Regions from separate parts of the Homo sapiens genome. Here region 1 is linked to region 2. Evidence: promoter capture Hi-C in human tissues and cell types (Jung and others, 2019). All regions are on one chromosome and are shown on one strand. The core of a region is centred on a gene start or on the middle of the fragment in contact, and the rest is flanking DNA. Distances in the headings are between cores, read along the strand shown. Region 1 overlaps LOC124903166 (a long non-coding RNA gene). Region 2 holds the start of DNAJC15 (DnaJ heat shock protein family (Hsp40) member C15).

Region 1 (3,837 bases), core at 1,239-3,738, 790 kb after region 2:
CCCTTACAACCCACCCAACTGTCCGGGGGCTTTCTGATTCAGGGTCAGTCTGGTCTTACATATGACCTGCCATAGCTTTGAGGGTTATAAGATATATTATGATAGGTTTTGTTCAAGCACTTGTCAAAACAAAAAATTACCAGGCCATTTCTTTTCACTTTCAAGAGGCATGTTAAAATGGCATCAACCCATTAGTAGCATTTATACCTATAAACAATAGAAACATCTCAACTTAGTGTCTGCCTTTAAGAGAAAAATTTTAAAAATTAAATTGCCACTTCTTCATATTTATTTAGCATATTCACAGGCTAAAAAAGAAATAATTGCAGGTCTCTTAAAGGCCTTATGGCTTACTCCAGAGTCAGTAGTTTCCAGTTTAACTTGGACTAATGGGTTGGTCAGCTAAGGATTGCTTTGGAGAGGGACTTACTTTAATGATTACAGACAACACTGATTCTTAAAGACTTCATGTTCTGAAAAGCATTATAATGATGGAATGATTATAAATAATAATATTCATAGGACACTTTATAAAGAATCCTGCCATAGTTATGATTTCATGTCTAAACCAACGCAGGGAGTAGCACATGAACCAATGGTGTAGATCCTCAGAGACATGTTTCCCTGCTTCCCGACTCCCACCCAGCCTCTGAGTCTCCATACAGCTTGGACTCAAAGATTCTCTTTTATTCCTTCTCCATGATAGTTAGACCCCCGTGCTCAGTTTCGTGGTTGTTCCAGCACGCAAAGGCTATGGTTTGAAATATCCCAGCCTTTCCTTTCTATTTCATCCATATCCTGCCCATCGTCTCAAAGATAGCTCATCTTGTTCACTCCTTGAAAATTTGTGAAACATATTTGGTATTTCATTATATTAACTCTTTCAGTGCTGCTGAACTGTTTCATCTGCTTCAGGTATTAGTGGCAGGAAGGAGAGGACCATGCCTTGCACATTATGTTGCAGAGATTCCCTTAGTAGATGTACACTTGTTGAATAAATGGTCCAGAATCATACCAATTGGAATACTTTCTTAAATCAAGTTACATGTTTGTATGGTGCCCTAGAAAATGTCTAGCACTTCTTAGGTGTTCAATAAATATTAATACTGCACTTGTAACCTGAGATGTTGAATTTGGTTTTAAAATAAGCCAACAAAGTAAGCAAGCTACTTCCCAGGTATGTTACCTTTTATAACTTCTATGTTTACAACTCTACTACCATATTGAGAGAATAACTGTTTAACATGATGACCCTGTGGTAAAAATCCAAACTCATTAAAAAAGAAAAGTTTGAGTTTCAAGTCAGTTACAAGTAAAATCAAATAAAGGAAGAAAGGAAGGAAAGCATGAGGGAGGGAAGGAGAGAGGGAGGGAGGAAAGAAGAAAAAAAGAAAAATTAAAATGCATTTGACATATTGAATGTATTAATTCAATTGCCAACCATTCTTTTGCAGTGCCTCCTAATCCTGGACAACAGAACATTGCTGGACAACCATGGCAAAGCTGAGCTCAGTGGGCTCACCATGGATTTACTCTGATCTGCATTACTTAGATCATTAATGTCAATCCCTTTTTTCCCAGTAGCTTTATGTCTGTTCACATCATTTCATTCTCAATTGCACTAGCTCTGTGCTTTTACCCTTAGCTGTTATCCTCACCCTCTATCTAAACAAGAGCTCCTTTGATTTCCTTCCTCCTCACTTTAAAATTTTCTTTTGCCTTTGATCGTTCTCTTATTTTTCTCATCCTGTCTCAGGAATGCTCTTTCTTCCCAAGGCTATGCCTTCCTCTCTGTATGGATCCTGTCCCCTCCTGGCTTTCCAGGACTACTGCATGAATTACCTTCTATTTTCTTGCATCTTCAGTGTCACCCTTTTCATGAGCTCTGCAACAGTCCTATTGCCCAAGCTCTAGAAAATCCCCCTCTTAAATTATTGTATTTCTAGCCTTTCATTTACTATCTCATTTCTCAAAAGTGCAATAAACATGTAATTTCCCTTTTTCTACTCTTTTGGTTTGAGGCATATTATCCTTCTATTTCTCACACCTAAGGCCTCAAATTCCACCTGTAAGGGGGTGAGCTTGCACTTAGGTTCTAGGCTAAATCTAGTCACAAGAAAGCAACTAGTGCAGTTAGATTCACAGTTTAGAGTGTCTGTGGAAATGCTTCACCTTGGGATGGGATTCTGCCTGCATTACTGTTACTTAAGCATACTGATGCCACCTGGATATTCACCTGCTTCAGCTTCTGCCTGTTGACCCCTTGCACACTACTTTCTCCCCCTCTCATGTTTGGAAGAATCAACCTCAAAATGTTAACTTCATTATTGATAAAGCCAACTGGGGAACATGTCTTTAGATGTTTGGTCAAAAGCCTTGCTGAGTTGAATTTTCTCCTACAACAGCAGCCCAGAATGCACTCTCTCTGCACTTGGTTTGCAGGCTGGCTTATGGAGAGTCAGGGGTTAAGTGTTCTTCCAACTTTGCAAAAGATAAATCAGTCATCTACTAGGAAAAGAGGAAAATCAGAGATAAGCTGAAAGCATTCCTCTCATAATTTTCCATTCCTGGGGAGTAGATTTGACATTTTCTTCCCTTAATGGAAACATGAGTCATGAGGAATAAATGCTCCCTGCTATCAGTCCTCTCTCTCCCTTCTAGGGCTTCTCCTGGTTCCTGTTCGGCCCCCAGAAAGCTTGTCTAATCTTGGCTAGCCTGATCCAGCCTCCACCAGCCCCGATGCTGCTGGTATACACTTGCTCCTTAACCACACATACTGTGGTTTCTGCTTTAACAATCAGCCATAGGATTTTAATTACCCAATCTAGCCACACGTTCTCAGTCCTTTTCTTCTCTAACTTCTCAGCTCAAAAATTTTGAATACATCCCATTTGATTGTGGACAAAGAGGCAATGATCATGGGGTAATGCACTATGTTTTTGTACACTAAGTTTCTTTTGTAAATACCATTGTTTCTGGCCAGGCGTGGTGGCTCACACCTGTAATCCCAGCACTTTGGAAGGCCGAGGCAGGCGGATTGCCTGAGGTCAGGAGTTCGAGATCAGCCTGACAAACATGGTGAAACCCCCTCTCTACTAAAAATACAAAAATTAACTGGGTGTGGTGGCACATGCCGGTAATCCCAGCTACTGAGGAGTCTAAGGAAGGAGAATTGCTTGAACCCAGCAGGAGGAGGTTGCAGTGAGCCAAGACTGCGCCACTGCACTCCAGCCTGGGTGAGAGAGCAAGACTCTGTCTCAGAAAAATTAAATAAATAAATAAATAAATAAAGCCATTGTTTCTAATTTTTTTTTTTAAAAAAAGCTGTTTCCTTAACATTCCAGTATGCTCTATTCTAAGGCTTTTCTAAAAATCAGTATTCATATAAAAAATACTTTCTACTGATGTAGAAGAGGGGTAAGAACTTTGGAGTGAAAACAGATTAAAGCTTGGGTTTGAATTCCAGTTCTGACACTTACTAATTAAATGACTTTATTTAATTTCTCATCACTTTAGTAATTTCATTTCTAAACTGGTGATTAACAGTGGCTAATGTGTATTAAATACATAATGCTAATCACTGAGGGCTTTATATGCATTATCTTATTTAATCTTACAACTCCATGAAGTAATCCTATTATTATTTCCATTTTACAGATTTTTAAAATGAGATTTAATGAACAAAAGAAACTCGCCCAAAGTCACACAACCAGTAAGTGAGAGAGTTTGGAATAAAATCTAATAAAACACATATTTGAACTCAAGTTTATGTAAATCCGAAGTTAAAGCTCTTAAAAGCTGTGCTTTTCTTTTTCTGTACTTAGTATATGCAAAGAT
Region 2 (3,873 bases), core at 943-3,442:
CTGCTCACTGCAACCTCTGCCTCCCAGGTTCAAGCGATTCTCCTGCCTCAGCCTCCCGAGTAGCTGGGACTACAGGCACCCACCACGCCCAGCTAATTTTTGTATTTTTAGTAGAGATGGGATTTCACCATGTTGGCCAGGATGGTCTCACTCTCTTGACCTCATGATGCACCCACCTTCGGCCTCCCAAAGTGCTGGGATTACAGGCATGAGCCACCGCGCCCAGCTGGGGATCAGAATTTTTAAGGACAACTCGGTGAGTAGGGGGAAGCCAGTGAGCTGGGAGTGCTGATTGGTCAGGTCAAAGATGAAATCACAGGGAGTCCAAGTTGTCTTGCGTTATCAGTTCCTGGGTGGGGGCCACGAGATCAGATGAGCCAGTTTATCGATCTGGGTGATGCCAGCTGATTCATCAAGTGCGGGGTCTGCAAAATATCTCAAGCACTGGTGGTAGTTTTTACAATAGTGATGTTAGCTCCAGCAGCAATTTGGGGAGGGTCAGAATCTTGTAGCCTCCAGCTGCATGACTCCTAAGTCATAATTTCTGATCTTGTGGCTAATTTGTTAGTCCTACAAAGGCAGTCTAGTCCCCAGGCAAGAAGGAGGTTTGTTTTGGGAAAGGGCTTTTATCATCTTTGTTTCAAACTATAAACTATGAATTACATTCCTCCCAAAGTTAGTTTGGCCTACGGCCAGGAATGTACAAGACAGCTTGGAGGTTAGAAGCAAGATGGTGTTGATTAGGTCAGATCTCTTTCTCAGTTGTAATTTTGCAATGGCGGTTTAATTCCCAGTCCAGTTCTCTTTATACTGCTATGCAATGCATGTGCTCATGTTCTGGTATGTACTATTATTCTGTGTCAGTGTTATCTTCCCTACAAGATTGTAAATTTCTAGGACCTAACTTCTTAGACATGCTAATAATATTAACTAAGTGAACAAATTAATAGACCCTCAAAACTTTAAATTCAGGAATAGAAAAAAAATAAAGCTTTTTCTTCCTGTCAGCTGATTTTGCAAAGGGTATAAGGAGCCAAAGAGCTGCCACGTTGGTACAGAAGTTGGAAAACACCATACGCTTCAACTGCTGGTTAATTTTTGCTCTAAAAACTTGATGGAGGCCAGGCGCGGTGACTCACGCCTGTAATCTCAGCACTTTGGGAGGCTGAAGCGGGCGGATCACCTGAGGTCAGGAGTTTGAGACCAGCCTGGCCAACATGGTGAAACCTCGTCTCTACTAAAAATACACAAATTAGCCAGGTGTGGTGGCACGTGCCTTTAATCCCAGGTACTCGGGAGGCAGAGGGTGCAGTGAGCCAGAGATTGCGCCACTGCACTCAGCCTGGGCAACAGAGCGAGACTCCATCTCAAAAAAAAAAAAAAGCTTAATAATAAAATGGGCTTTTATATATACAAATCAGCACAAACTCATTTGAGGGAGAGTAAGATTTACCTACTTGCTCACAACTTTTTTTCCCCTGCCTCAGGCTCCTGAGTAGCTGGGATTACAGGGACGCACCACCACACCCAGCTAATCTTTGTATTTTTAGTAGAGACGAGGTTTCACCATGTCGGCCAAGCTGGTGTGATCCACCCGCCTCGGTCTCCCAAAGTGCTGGGATTACAGCGTGAGCCACCGCACCCGGCCACAACTTTCTTCTGTGTAATTTCACCTTAAATACAGCCATTTACTTGGGGGTGGAGTAAGCAAATTGCCTCTTTAATTTCTCTCCCGGGGTGGTAGAACTGTGGCATTAAACAGAAGTGCGAACAGAAGTTGAGAGTGGGAAGAAAGGCTGCCCGGAAGGGGGTCAGGAAAGCTCAGGCAAGCCCACCCTCAGGCACTACAGCTAGACTCCGAGCTTACTGGGCAGTCATCTGATTCGACCAACATCAGTTCGCAGGGCTTAAGCCCAGTCCCTTACGGCGGCCTGGGGAGGGACCAGGCCCAAGTATATAAAGCTCCCTGAGGGTCCGCGTTGGCTTTGCGCCTGTGAGTGTGATTCAAGAACGTCCCAGTGCCCTTGGCTCCTTTCGGAGTGTGACCCCGTGCTTGCACGGGACACGTTACCCAGCTCGGGTGAGAAGGGTATCTTCCGGGAACCTCGCCTTTAATAGCACAACGAGCGCAGAGTCCACTGGATCTGCGAGAAGAAACCGCGCTAACTAGTTTGTCCCTACGGCCGCCTCGTAGTCACTGCCGCGGCGCCTTGAGTCTCCGGGCCGCCTTGCCATGGCTGCCCGTGGTGTCATCGCTCCAGTTGGCGAGAGTTTGCGCTACGCTGAGTACTTGCAGCCCTCGGCCAAACGGCCAGACGCCGACGTCGACCAGCAGAGACTGGTGAGTCCTGCCAGCGGCCCCCACCCCTCTCTGGCTCCCTTGTAGTTTCTGCTTCAGCCCCCTCTACCGCCTCACCCTTGAACCTTTGTACTCCCCCGCATTCGCTCACGGTCTGTGCCCTAGCGCTCACTTGTTCAGTGGAGAGACCGCTTTGTGCTGGGCTTTGACGCCTGGGCGTGGAAGACGGAGCAGTTCTGAGGATCTGTCTCCTCAAGGAGCTTCCAGTCTTGTCTGGGACACAAACCAGAAAACAGGCAATTGCAAATACAGTAAAATAAGTGCTGTATGTGGATTTTCCTATCTCATAGGAGGCCCTAAAAACGTCTTGCAGGGGACGTGGTGGGATCAGGGACGCTTCTTGGAGAAAGCTGTAGTTAAAAATTAAGATCTGAATGAATAAAAACAGTCCATTCAGCAAGGAGAAGGGGAAAAAGTGTTTCGGGTACCAGGACTACTGTCTCCAAAGTCTCCGGCACAGAAACAGGGCCCAGTTGGAAACTCCAAGTGGTGTATTCAGGATGAACTGTAGAGCTGGAAAAAGGAAGGGTCTAACAGAAAACTGTCCAACAGAAGCATATTGTGAGCCACATACGTATTTTTACGTTTTTTTTTTTTTTTTTTTTTTTTGAGACGGAGTCTCGCTCTGTCGCCCAGGCTGGAGTGCAGTGGCGCGATCTCGGCTCACTGCAAGCTCCGCCTCCCGGTTTCAGGCCATTCTCCTGCCTCAGCCTCCCAAGTAGCTGGGACTACAGGCGCCTGCCACCACTCCCGGCTAATTTTTTGTATTTTTAGTAGAGACGGGGGTTTCACCGTGTTAGCCAGGATGGTCTCGATCTGCTTACCTCGTGATCCGCCCGCCTCGGCCTCCCAAAGTGCTGGGATTACAGGCGTGAGCCACCGCGTCCGGCATATTTTTAAGTTTTTTGTAGCCATATTAAACAACTGAAGAGAAACAGGTGGGTTTGATTTTAACCATGTATTTTCTTTAACCTGATATATGCACAGTTGCATGGTAATTTTCAACATTCAATATGAAATATTGCCCAAGTGGTGGTTTAGGCTTGTAATCCCAGCGCTTTAGGAAGCCCAGGCAGGAGGATCACTTGAGGCCATGAGTTTGGAGGACAGCCTGGGCAACACAGGAGACCCCATCTCTGCTAAAAAAAAAAAAAAAAAATTAGCTGGGTGTGGTGGTGTGAGCCTGTAGTCCTAGCTGCTTGGGAGGCTGGGTCGGGAGAATCACTTGAGCCCAGGAGTTGAGGTTATAGTGAGCTATGATTTCGCCACTGCACTCCAGCCTGAGAGACAGAGCTAGACCCTGTCTCCAACAAAGAAAAAAAAATGAGGCAGTAGAGATTTAGAAAGTTTTAAGTAACTGGTCCAGGATCATCCCTGGTAAGTGGCAGATCTACGATTCCAAATGCTACACTTTTTCCCTTATGACTTGCTGACTCCTTAGAAATAAGGATTTCTGGATATAGTATTCAGTGTATGATACAGCTGAACAAGATCAGGCAGAAGTAATCCTTTTG

The links. Contacts are between HindIII fragments. The study calls those that stand out against the background at their distance.
Region 1: a contact is called between a fragment that was not itself captured here and the fragment with the promoter of DNAJC15 in region 2, in 1 of the 25 tissues and cell types used here (hippocampus).

What each region holds. Positions count from the first base shown.
Region 1 is chr13:43,812,811-43,816,647 of GRCh38, forward strand. LOC124903166 (a long non-coding RNA gene) reads left to right here. Exons shown (of 3, transcript XR_007063773.1): 3 at 1,455-2,006. Among named protein-coding and RNA genes, the nearest start is that of ENOX1, 28 kb to the left of the region's middle. The HindIII fragment of the contact is 3,357 bases long and covers 811-3,837 here.
Region 2 is chr13:43,021,394-43,025,266 of GRCh38, forward strand. It overlaps DNAJC15 (DnaJ heat shock protein family (Hsp40) member C15), which reads left to right and starts at 2,193. Exons shown (of 6, transcript NM_013238.3): 1 at 2,193-2,341. The coding sequence starts at 2,234. RefSeq lists enhancers at 2,012-2,071, 2,082-2,131, 2,642-2,691. The HindIII fragment of the contact is 4,695 bases long and covers 1,188-3,873 here.